3 separate regions of the Homo sapiens genome follow, and regions 2 and 3 are each linked to region 1. The links are contacts of gene promoters, found by promoter capture Hi-C in blood cells and fetal thymus (Javierre and others, 2016). All regions are on one chromosome and are shown on one strand. The core of a region is centred on a gene start or on the middle of the fragment in contact, and the rest is flanking DNA. Distances in the headings are between cores, read along the strand shown. Region 1 holds the start of AMTN (amelotin). Region 2 overlaps TMPRSS11E (transmembrane serine protease 11E). Region 3 has its middle 20 kb from the start of TMPRSS11B.

Region 1 (4,458 bases), core at 1,471-3,970:
TAAATTATCTCACTGTTTTTGCTGATGTCTCCTTGTCTTGGAATGATTTAAGAATTCTTTTCCTTTTATAATATGTATTTCTTGACTCCCAACTCCGTAATCACATTATTGCAAGTTGTCTGCTTTCAGACTTAAAATTTCTTGCCTAAGAAATTACTCAGTGTTTTTAATTTTGCTTGTTTATTTTGATCTAATCCCACTGACTGCTCAGTTTCCTGGCTAGGGCATGTCCGATTCCCGCTGAGGGTTGGAGTCATGTCTGCAACAAGCAATTGACTCACTGTGAGGTCCCTAAATCACCTGATGCCCAGTCACGAGGAATTATTCAATTCAAATAAACTATTGAATAGAACCACATTCTAGACTAACACTATAACACAGGTCTCCTCACCTAAGCCAAGAACAACAGTGACATAAAATTCAACTCTACCTCCACCCAAAAAAAAAAAAAAAATATATATATATATATATATATACGTATATATATATATACGTATATATATACATATATATGTATATATATACATGTATATATATACGTATATATATATATACGTATATATATATATATATATATATATATATGACGCTCCCAACCCTCTACATTCACTGAAAATAATGCCCAAATAAAGTAGATGCCCAGTGTCACGGAGTCCCTCTCTTGCAATGACCTGGTTGAATATTTCATATTCCCCCAACAAAACCTAAGCTCTTTAAGGGCAGGGTTTTTGTCCCTTCCATTAATTGTTTTATCCCAGACACTGACACAATGTTGGTGAACAAAGAGTGAATCTATGTTAAATGAGAGCTGGAAAAATGAATTGATTGAATAAAAGAAACAATGAATTTGCCTGTGAAAGCCCATGAGAACCTAAAGTTGCTTTCCTTCCACATCCTTCAGCACTATGTCTCATTGCTCCTCTCACTATCAGCCACTTTAACATGCTAGTCTGTCTTGTGGATTATACTTATTCTCCAAATCCACCTAAAGCCCAATCTCTTCTCTAAAATCTTCCCTCAACTCAATCTTGCTCTGTTTCCCCACAGTATATGCCTTTACCATTTATTCGTCAACATTCGATGACCATATGATGCTTTAAAATATTACAAACATGAAAGACAAGAAATATAAGATGCGGCCCCAGGAACTCTCCATCTAGTTCAAGAGAAACAAAAAGTCAAGAAATAATAAAAAAGCCATATAAAGTAATATCTGACCAAGTGCCAAAATCAGTGATAGAAACAAACCAAAAAAAGCTATAGGTAGTTAAAATTAGATATCATCTCCAACCCTGTCTTCCACTGCTATCCTCACCCCATCTTGTTCCAGTGACAGAAAGCAATGTCACTACTTCAAATCTAGACCTTTGATCAGCCTGGGTGCTCTCCTTGCGTTCTTCATAAATTTTTTTTTTATTCTTCAAATCCAAACTCAAGGATGATCTCCTCTTTTAAGCTTTTCCTGTCCTTTTGCCCCCAACAAAATTCACCACACTCTTTCTTACACCTGAATACTCCTATATTTGCACATACTTGTTGATCTTGTATTTCTCCTCCTACATAATGTTCCCCATTCCTAACAGAGTATCAGAGTAACAAACATTGATTATATAGATTAATTGAACAGTTAGAGAGAAGCTTTGAAAAAAAAATGTATCATCTCAGTTAATTTTCCATTCATAGACACTCTATAGGTTTTTTTTGTTTTTCTTTTTTAAAGGTCAAATCCCAAATCCTGGTGCGACACAGGCTCATCATTGAAATGGTCTCAGAAATTGATTAACAGACCTCCACCTCCCTTTGGGGCATATCTCAAAAATTCCAGGTGAAGCCCACAGCTTCATGGTAAAATGTTAAGTAGCACTTAACTGTTCTTCTTGTAAAAGAAATCTCAGTTGATTCCCTGTGTTTTGCTTAGGTTATAGTATCATTTTCCCTGTTTAATATAAAGCAAGCCATTCACCATTTGGCCATAAATGTACATATCCTCTGATACATTACTTAAATGTACATACCCTCTGATACATTACTTAAATGTACATACCCTCTGATACATTACTTAAATGTACATATCCTCTGATACATTACTTAAATGTACATATCCTCTGATACATTACTTCTAAGAATAACACCTACGAAAATACTCCCATATGTGTGAAAAAAAGGTTTTATAAGAATGGTGCTTGTGATACCTTTGTAATTACAAAATAAACTGGAAATGGATTAAATGTTCATCAAAATGTGATATAATGATGTGTACCCATTAAATAAATAAAATAAACCTGTATGTACTAACACATAAAGTTGTCCATTATTTGTTAAGTAAACATAAGTTCCAGAGCAATCTACATAGTAGACTTCATTTTTTAAACCTTGTACAGAGCCCTATATTTTGATGTTTGATTTATGTATTCATACTTACATGATAAAACACGTACATCTGAGAAATCATTTGGGAAGAAGAAGGAGGTGAAGAAGCATTTAAATTATTTTATTGTCTGCATCTTTTTTTAATTACATAAGGCCTGTCTCCTTGAAACACCTTCTATTCAAATGGTAGACATTGGGTAACATAATGTCTGCAGCTAATAACCCACCTAATGAAGTGTTGGGAAATGAAAAAAAAACAAATGATTTAACAGACAGCTAAATCCTGATTGGTCTCTCAGTTTCCAATCTCCTGGAACTGAGTTTAAATTTCTTCTACAAACACATACATCATTGAAGGGTAAAATTTTTCACCAGAGTAAACTTGAGAAACCAACTGGACCTTGAGTATTGTACATTTTGCCTCGTGGACCCAAAGGTAACATTAATTGACCATGTTTCAAGTAGAACTTTTGTTTTTAAAGTATCATTTTCTCTTAAAAGGAAAAAAAATACATGGAAGAGTAACACTTTTTTGTTGTTGTAGGTAGCAATCTGAAACATGAGGAGTACGATTCTACTGTTTTGTCTTCTAGGATCAACTCGGTCATTACCAGTAAGTATGTTATGTTTGTTTTATATGCCAGCCAGTTTCAACAGCATCTCTAGCTGCAGACCTACCTCTCTCCTGCCCTCCATCAAAACTGCTCTGTTTTGTGACTCATTCCCTGAGAGTGTCCAGTGTTTATTTTCCAAGACAGAAAATGACAAGCTAATAAGCTGTTGGTACATATTTCAATGTACTTGCATTTTTTTAAATGCATCCACTCCATCGTGGTAAAAGGTCAATTATTTTGGCAGAGCAATAGGCTAGAAATTAGGAGAAAAATGAATGTGTTAAGTGGATGATTATTTTATTTTCCAAAAAGAAGTTTTTTCTTGGCAACTAGTTATTTGCTCATGAATAAAGAGGTGAACTATATTTTCTAATTTTTCTACTTGGAAATGCTAAATATCTAGATTGTATAAATTCTAAAAAGACCACCAAAACATATGATATCAAAGGCATATGATTAAAATGATCAAAATTTTTGACTTAGAACATTAAATCATAAATAGTATTCACATATAACAGGAAAAAATTAAAAAGCCCTATAACTCCAACATTTACTCCATTATTTTGTAGACATAGGGATGAATGGTTTGGATCTCTAGGTGGACTTCTCTTTGACTGTTCAAGATGGTTCAAGACCATTAAGAAAAAAATTACAATATACTTGCTATGAAATAACAGAATAAAAGAAAGCATACTTAGTTGGGCCTCAAGCTTACTCAATACTTCTGCATCCATTCGTACAATCAACAAATATTTATTAAAAACTTTCTATATGCCAGACATTGTGCTAGGTGCTGAAGAAACAATAGTGAGAAGGGAAAAAAAGGCATAATCCTTCATGGTGTTCACAAGGATTGTAGACATTAATTTTTTTTTTAACTTTTTTTTTATTTTTACCAATGTCACTTGCCAATTTTTTTATTTTTTACTCAAATGATTTTTAAAGAAATGTTAAATTATAAATAATAACTGTGATTATTTATGTGAAGGAAATGAACAGGGTGGGATTATGCGGGGGGAGGATGAAGCAAGATACGGTAGCCAACCTCCTTCTTACTTTATCCCAAATACATACTACATACGTGTGTGTGTGTGTGTGTGTCTGTGTGTGTGTGTCCTCCTTGAAAGAAGTTGTCTGTAAAAGTTTAATTTTCTAAACAAGGTAAAGTATGAAGTTAATTTTTTTATAAAACAAATGGTTCTTTCACTTCGTCAAATACATTGACCGAAAGATTCTTCAAAATAGTTTCTCTAGTATATTTAAATTACCACATAATTGGTGAAAACTCAAAACAAGCAAAACTTTCCAGGAGTGCAGCTCTCATGTGAGGTGGGCTGAGGTGGAGCAGGCCGGCTGTGCAGGCCACAGCAGATTGCTAATAGACAATGAGAGCAGCTAGAGAGCTAGTGGGGCAGGGCAGCAGGGAGGCGACACTGAAATGTCTATTCAGTATGGAAACAATACCAAATGAAAC
Region 2 (4,242 bases), core at 996-3,495, 2.0 Mb before region 1:
TTTTTTGTGACCTATAATAATTATACAAACTTCATGCAATGTACTTGTTCTAAGCAAATTAAAGCAAATATTTATTTAACATTGTTACTGAGGATGTCAACATATAACAATAAAATATAAATCACCCATTTGCTTGACATTATGATATGATAATCCACAAAGAAGGGGAAGATGGGAAAAATGTTACTAGTCAATTTATTGTAAATTTTTTTAAAATTTGAGGCTAGGATGAAAATTAATTTAATAACAATCAGCATGCTTATGTACTAAAATAATTGTGTTGTGGAATGGGAGGGAACGAAGAGTTCAAACAATTGACTGGAAAGGTTTTATTCATCTAAGACTTTCCCAAACAGCAAATCCTTGAAGGGAATGAGATCCAGGTGTTAGTGTACAGTCTAGTCATGCAACTGAACTGGGGCTCAGACCTCTATTTTGAGATGATTGTAGATATTTTTCTTCCCCTGCTGCTGTGTTTACAGTTCATACATGGTTAATGGTCCTGTTAGACTCCTCTTCGCTGAGATGGAAAGATACCATAGAGAAAATATCCTGGAAGCTGCCTCACTGCTGCATCTAGTGTGACACTGAATGGCTAACTGCCTGGATAACAAAACTGAAGAGTAAAAGCATGATATTGGCCACCTTCATGATTTTTAGTTTTGGTAAATTATTACTGAGCTGTTAGAGACACAGCTTTCAAGTAATCCAGACCGTAATGAAGTTAGGACTGGTACCATGATGTACGGCATGTTAATGGTGAGATTTCACCAAGTCTGTCCTCATTGCATATAGCTACTCATATAAGTTCTATATTGTACAATAATTACCCTGAAAACCAGTATTGCCACGAAAAATTTAAGTTTATTGATCTGAATAACACTGGAGTATGAACTGATAACATTTAGGCACTTGGCAAAAATATGAAAACTGACATGAATTGATAGTGCTAAATATTTTGCATAAGCTATTTTTGTTTCATTTAGCAAAATGCTCTGGGAAAAAACAAAATTGAGGAAAACCTTGAATTTTAAGCAAGGATATAAGTACCTTTAAAACTACTCTCAGTGTTCTGTTAAAAATGGATTCCTCTTGTTTCAGTGTATTCTGTAGTTGGGCCTCTAGGTGGCACCCACAAGCTGTAGGAAGCTATGGGGAAGCCTGACATCAAGAAGGATGTCTAGATCTGTAAGTAATAATGAGAACTGTACCTGAAATTAGAGTCTCGTGAAACCAAAAGAATACAGTTTTTCTTTGCAAATGGCGTTTAAAAATTAATTCGTGTTGATTTACATCATTATTCGTATTTTTCAAATTTCTGGACATTTGATTCCAAACTAAAATAAAATTTATGTTGCATGATTTGAGGAACTCCCTCTGCAAAAGCACCTGGAGCAATTTAAATTAAGAAGAAATTTTAAAAGCTTAATTTTGCAATGACATCTTATTCCTAAGAGAAATACTTTTGATATTTCCTTCTACAAAGGATTTGAGAAATAGAAGTTTGGGTCAAAGTGAAAATATGAGCGATAGTTCAAACTTTATGTACATAGAGAAATAGGTAATACATTTCTAAAATGGTAACTTCTTTTGAAAAGTAATTACCAAAGGGTTTTATCTGCATGTCTGTGTTAACTGTTTCATTGGAGATAGTTAAGAAGATGTGACGATAATATTTATTACTTTTTTCAAGAGGGCAGGCAGTTCCTCTTCTATATCTTCGATCTCTCTTCCTACAGCACTAGTAAAGTACTCTGTATATAACAGTCCTTCAATAAATGTTGTTGAATGACTCTTTTATTTTTACATTATGCAGAAAACATAGCTTTATTATTATTTACACATTGATTTTTAAAAGTAATCCCAGATTTTACACTGAGTGAATTAAGCCGGTTACTATTTATCTAAGCCTATAATCTCACCCGTAAGATAGAGATGATATTTGCTCAAATGATTGTTGTGGAAATAAAACTGTGAATGTTTAAAAAGTGCTTAGCACAGTTCTTGGAACATTAGTAGGTGTTCAAGAGACCATAGTAATAATAACTGTTGCTATAATGAAACTACACTCTTGTTTTAAAAAATATGGTATTTGATTATAACAGGCTGAATACCTTTTTTTTTTGAAATGACAAGATAATTAGACCAACAAAATGTGCTAGTTAAAAAAATTTCTGATTCTACAAAAAGTTTTACTGGGATAATTCCGAAACATATTTATCAAAGTGGTCTGTCAATGTGAGGGTTCATTCTAACTTTTGACTTCAATTTTAAAAAATGATAAACTTTATTAACCACCGAGTGGCTGGATTATATCAAGATCTATGGTGTAGTTCAAATGTCGCCTCTTCCCTGAAGCCTTTTTTTACTTCCTCAAGTGGATGTACTATACGTTTCTTCTGAACTTCCTTACCATTAATTTTTTTTATTTTCAGATAATCATTGATTCAGATACGGTTAAGATATAACTGTAAGATATAATTCACAGAGATTCTGTGTACCCTTTACTCAGTTTACCTCAATAGTAAGATCTTGCTTAGGTGTAGTATAATATTACAATGAAGAAGTTGACATTGAGACAATCCATTAACTTTATTAGGATGCAATCAATTATATATGTGTGTGTAGGTGTGTGTGTAATTAGTTCTATGTAATTTAATTACATATGTAGATTCATGTGATTACCAAGATACAGATAGTTTGTTCACAAGGCTACATCACGCTACCGACAGCCATCCAGCTCCCTCCCTAGGCCTGTGTCTAGTCTCTAATCCCTGGCAACCACTAATCTGCTCTCCATCTTTATAATTTTTATTGTTTCAAGAATGGTATATAAATATATTATACAATATGTAACTTTTTCAGGTTGGCTTTTTCGCTCAGTATAATTTTCTTGAGATCTGTCCAAGTTGTTGTGTGTGTCAGTAGTTAATTCTTTTTTTATTACTGAGTAGTATTACATGATAGGGCTGTACCTCAGTTTGTTAACTGTATACCCACTGAAGGGCATTTGGATTGTTCTCAGGTTTTGGCTATTACAAATAAAGCTGCTATGAAGATTTGTGTGTAAGCTTTTGTGTGGACATAAGTTTTATTTTTCTGAGATTTATGGCCTAGAGTATGCTGGGTCATACGGTAAGTACATGTTTAGATTTTTAAGAAACGGCCATATTCTTTTCACATGGCTCCTTACTACTTGTAAAACTCTCTGTACTTAGAATATCTACCTGTGTATTTCACATGTGCAGACAGATGTGATTTCAACAACTAGACTGTAAACTCCATGAGGGTGGGGACACTAACTGGTTCATTTTTATATCCTTCACAGTTCACAGGAAACTATAATATTGTTTATGGCAGTTGTTCTATAAAGATTTATTAAATAAAAATAAAGAGTAATAAAAGCAAACAAATAAATATACGTGAAATAAAAAAGAAGAAATGGCTTTGGGTAGAAAAGAATGAACAGTATTTCCTTCATGAAGGTATTACTGCTCAATTTCTGTAATTCTGCATGGACTCTACCATGGCACTTCCATGTATCTTATGTTGGTTGATATAAAGTCTGTTTTTCACCTTTCCACAGGGTACACAATCAAACATAGACTAAAGACATGGTTGATATGGAGAATCTTTATACCTGAATTTAGTTTCTGATACATGTTATATTTAAGAGTTTTCTGACACATCTGTATCAGCTTCTACTGTATTTGTGGAATGGATTCCAGTTTAGGAGCACAATCAATAAATATTTGTTGCTCTTACTTTTTATAACTATGATTCTATAATTTGTCCTAATGTAATTTTTATTATATAACTCAAGGTGGAGTGAAAGACAGAGACCTGTGAAATGTAATCAGAAGTTCTCTCTTAATTGTCTCTAACACATTAATCAGTACCTCTTTGGCGTAGATGTAGTCAGCTTAAATTTTACAATCACTGTACTCACTGCCTTGCATATACCCCTCACCTGCTTGTTCTCTTGCTCCACCACTCTGTGACACTTGCTTTTTACTATGATCCTGGTAAAATTTAACTCTCCACTTACTGTTTTTAAAAACTAATTAATTTCCCCCAATTTTATTAAAGTATAATTGGCTAATAAAAATTGTATATAGTTACAGTGTAAAATTTGATGTTTTGATATATGTATACATTGTGAAATTATTTAATCAAGCTAATTAATATATTCATTACCTCAATACTTACTATTTTTTAAAAGAACATTTAATATCTATTCAG
Region 3 (4,219 bases), core at 5-2,504, 2.3 Mb before region 1:
ACTTATGGCAATATAGTTATTTGCGTAAGTGCAATAACAATGTTTTATTTTTCAATAGGACACAATTGGAGAAACTCGTTATTTTACCAAGGCCTTGACTAGAATGGTGTGCTTTCCTTTAAAGAATCAAATTTAACTTGTAGAACCAATAAAAAGCCCTTGGGAAAACTGGCCTTATACATTGTCTACACAGTCCCTGTACAGGGTTCCTGACCTACAGTAAGTAAAGAATGTCACTTTCTAATAGCCTCAGAAGCCCCAAATTACCTTGGGACCTCAAGTGGAGAGGAATTTACCCAACTCATGGGTATTTGAGGGTACAAACCTATGGCTGGGATTGGTTTTAAAAGTCTTATCTGAGATTACTTCTATGGAACAGATTTCCATCAAAGCCAATTTTTAAAAGCCTATGTAAAAAAATAATTATTTTTGCTGAATTTATAGAAATAATCAGGCCAAGTATAATAAAGCAAATCAGTCTTACCATGATTTATCCTTAGTAAAAATGGGAAACTGGAGAGAGAAAAAAATCATGTTTCAAAAACTGTGGTACACCTGTTACTAGACCCTAGTCTCATAAATTGTTTTGGAGTTTTTTTTTTCCTGAGATTTAAACTGACCCTACTTTTTTCCTGTGAACCAACCAGTGATTTCTGGCTGCTGCTCAGGAGAAACAGGAGAGATGCATAATGTAAAAATATGGATCAATATTCTAATTCTGAGCATGTTGGAATCAGCTAGCAACCCATATCAGCTTGGTTTCAACAATTGCCCAGTTCATGGTAAGCATTCTTATTTCATTTAGTTGGGGTAATTTTACTTATTTTGCTTTACTATTGTGGAATATATTGCTGTTCTACTCTTTGTGTAGGAATGCAGGATAAGCTTACCAAATGTTTTCTTAAACTGAACACTTATTAATTTTCCAGATATCACCTTTTGTTGGAACTCAAGAGTTATGAGTGGCCCTTAACATACCGATGTTTTCTAACTGAGCTGCTCTCTACCCTGAATACAAGAGACCTTAATAGTTAGGTAGGACTATCATTGCCCCTGTTCACCATGAATAAGTTACAGAAGATGAATCTTCATCCCTCTGCAACCCTTAGTATTAAGGATTCCCTTGTAAAAGGGAAGGGGGGAAATATGTCAGAGACATTTGAACCAGAGCAACTTCATCTTGAGTAGGGGCTGTGTAAAATAAGGCTGAGAGACCTACTGGGCTGCATTCCCAGGAGGTTAAGACGTTCTAACTCACAGAATGAGATAGGAGGTTGGCCCAAGATACAGGTCATAAAGACCTTGCTGATAAAGCAGGTTGCGATAAAGAAGCCAGCCAAAACCCACCAAAACCAAGATGGCAATGAGAGTGACCTCTGGTCATCCTCACTGCTCATTATACATATTATAATGCATTGACATGCTAAAAGACACTCCCACCCACGCCATGACAATTTCCAAATGTCATGGCAATGTCAGGAAGTTACCCCATATGGTCTAAAAAGGGGAGGAAACCTCAATTCTGGGTATTGCCTACCTCTTTCTCAGAAAACTCATGAAGAATACACCTCTTGTTTAGCAAATAATCAATAAATAACTGTAAGTATCCTTAGTCTAATATCCCAAGCTTCTGCTCTGTCTATGAAGTAGACATTCTTTTATTCCTTTACTTTCTTAATAAACTTGCTTTCACTTAAAAAAAGTTCATCATATTCCACAGGGTAAATGCATTAGGATAGCATTCAAGGTTCTCCATAACTGTCTACAACCTGCTTTTTCTATCATATTTATTAGTTCTCCAACGAAAACCTACTTTACTTCATTAAAAAATGATATTCCTATTTAATGTCCCTAAGATATATGATAACATTTTTCTCCTTCATTTACTTTATATTTTACTTCTTATTGTTATAAGTTCTTACTATTTTTCTGTTAACAGGAAAATCAAACTCTAAAATATTTTAAAGAGTTTTATTCTGAGGTAATATGAATGACCATGAGCCCAGAGAAAACACAATCTCAAGAAGTCCTGAGAAAGTGCGCCCAAGGTGGTTAAAGTTTGGTTTCATACATTTTAGGGAGGCAGGAGTTACAGGCAAAGATATTAATCAATACACGGAAGGTATTCATTGGTTTGACCTCAAAATGGTGGGATATCTTGAAGGGGGAGCGGCTTACAGTTTATAGGTGGATTCAAAGATTCTTTAATTTGCAATTGATTAAAGGAGTAAGGTTCTCTCTAAAACTTAAAGTCAGCAGAACAAATTGTTTTAAATGTTTTAAGTCAAGATAAAGATGTAGCAAGATAAGGATGTGGCAAGATTGATGGCCTGTGGGTGAGGCTTCACACTTGCCTTGCATGGCCTTAGGACTTGTTTATAATTTACTATCTTACTGCAGCAAAGTATCTGTTATGTCAGTCTTAAGATGTCTATTTTAACATTAATGCTAGTCAGCTGTTATGCCTAAACTGCAAAAGGGAGAGAGTATAAGGCAGCATGTCTGACCTTCCTTCACATCATAGCCAAGATTTCAGTTTTGTCTTTTTTTTGTTTTGTTTTGTTTTGTTTTGAATTGAGGTGAAGTTTCACTCTGTTGCCCCGGCTGGAGTGCAATGGCGTGATCTTGGCTCACTGCGACCTCCAGCCCCCCGGGTTCAAGTGATTCTCCTGCCTCAGCCTCCCAAGTAGCTGGGATTACAGGCATCTGCCATCATGCCCAGCTAATTTTTGTATTTTTAGTAGAGACAGGGTTTCACCATGTTGGCCAGGCTGGTCTCGAACTCCTGACCTCATGATCCACCTATGGAATTATAGCTGTGAGTCACTGTGCCAGGCCAGGAATTCAGTTTTTAAGGTTTTTCTCCCCTTGGCTAAGGGAGAGGCTTAGGATTTTACTTTTAGTTTACAGTTCTCATAAAACACCCTATTTTTTCCTGCCAATGAATCCTACCCATTTTTCAAGATCTAGCTCAGATTTTAGCTTTTTAGAGAGACCTTTTTAAGCACCTTAACGCCCTGTGATTCTTCCATATATCAACTCAATTCTCACAGCAACGCTATGAGGTAGGTATTATTACCTGTTATTTTATAGATTGTTAAACTGAAGCATGAAGAGGTTAAATAACCTGCCAAGCATTTCATGATTAGTATGTGACAGGTGAAATTCAGACCCAGAAGATCTGCTCCAGAGTCCTTGCCATTGCCTGCTCTACTCTTTTAATTATTCTAAATTCCTAGAGAAGAAGAAAATATGGTAAAGTGGAAGAAGATACACTCTGAAAATCTGGCTGCAAATTTGAGTTGGGTTGTTTACATTCTATATGACCTTGGGCAAATTACTTAAACTCTCAGAGTCTCATTTTTCGTTTTTAAAAAATAGAAAATTGTGAAGACGAAGTTAAAAAGATATATCTAAATTTCCAGACACATAATAAGTATTATGTATTGTGTATTCAAAGAGAGCCAACAGCCTTTGAAAAGACTATAATGGTGAGAAAATTATGACAGTGAAAGAGATCTAATCTAACTGACTCCATCTTGCCTATAACCTCCAAGCTGCCTTTGTTCATTCTTGGGCATAGGCCAAACTAACTCTGGGAGGAATTTAGTTTATAATTTAACTTTGGAGCAAAGGTGATAACAGCGCTTCCCTAAACAAATTGCCTTCTTGCTGGGGGGACCAGACTGCCTTCATAAAGCTAACAAATGAGACACAAGATTAGAAATTATGACTCAGAAGTCATGCAGCTAGAGGCTACAACCTCCCCAGTTGTTCCTATGAATAACATAACTACTGCAAAACCGAACATTGGTGTTCAAGATATTTTTTTAGACCCTATGTTCTGATAGATCAGCTGGTACAACCCAGACTGGTAAACTGGCTCATCTGATCTTGTGGCCTCCACCCAGGAACTGACTCAGCACAAGAGGACCCAACTAATCAACATTCCCCATTTCCTAGTTCCTGCCTGCCAAAGTATCTGTAAAAAACCCTAGCATCTGAATTTGAGGGGAGGCTGATTTGAGTAATAAGAAAATTCTGCTCTCCCATTTAGCTGGCTCTACGTGTATTAAACTCTTTCTCTATTGCAATTCCCTTGTCTTGATAAATCAACTTTATCTGGGAAGCAGGCAAGAAAAACCCACATCTTTTTTATAAAAACAAGTCAAAATGTTTTATCTGCTCTTCCATTATGAGGTCATTTGTGAATTTCATT

What was found. Contacts are between HindIII fragments. The CHiCAGO score rates a contact against its expected background, and 5 or more counts as called.
Region 2: a fragment that was not itself captured here is called in contact with the fragment with the promoter of AMTN in region 1 in 1 of 17 cell types (total B cells); the score reaches 5.1 in total B cells.
Region 3: a fragment that was not itself captured here is called in contact with the fragment with the promoter of AMTN in region 1 in 1 of 17 cell types (total B cells); the score reaches 5.7 in total B cells.

Annotation. Positions count from the first base shown.
Region 1 is chr4:70,515,849-70,520,306 of GRCh38, forward strand. It overlaps AMTN (amelotin), which reads left to right and starts at 2,721. Exons shown (of 9, transcript NM_212557.4): 1 at 2,721-2,806; 2 at 2,915-2,983. The coding sequence starts at 2,930. The HindIII fragment of the contact is 2,056 bases long and covers 1,637-3,692 here.
Region 2 is chr4:68,497,477-68,501,718 of GRCh38, forward strand. It overlaps TMPRSS11E (transmembrane serine protease 11E), which reads left to right. Exons shown (of 10, transcript NM_014058.4): 10 at 1-128. Among named protein-coding and RNA genes, the nearest start is that of TMPRSS11E, 52 kb to the left of the region's middle. The HindIII fragment of the contact is 1,647 bases long and covers 1,423-3,069 here.
Region 3 is chr4:68,263,894-68,268,112 of GRCh38, forward strand. No RefSeq gene overlaps it. Among named protein-coding and RNA genes, the nearest start is that of TMPRSS11B, 20 kb to the left of the region's middle. The HindIII fragment of the contact is 742 bases long and covers 884-1,625 here.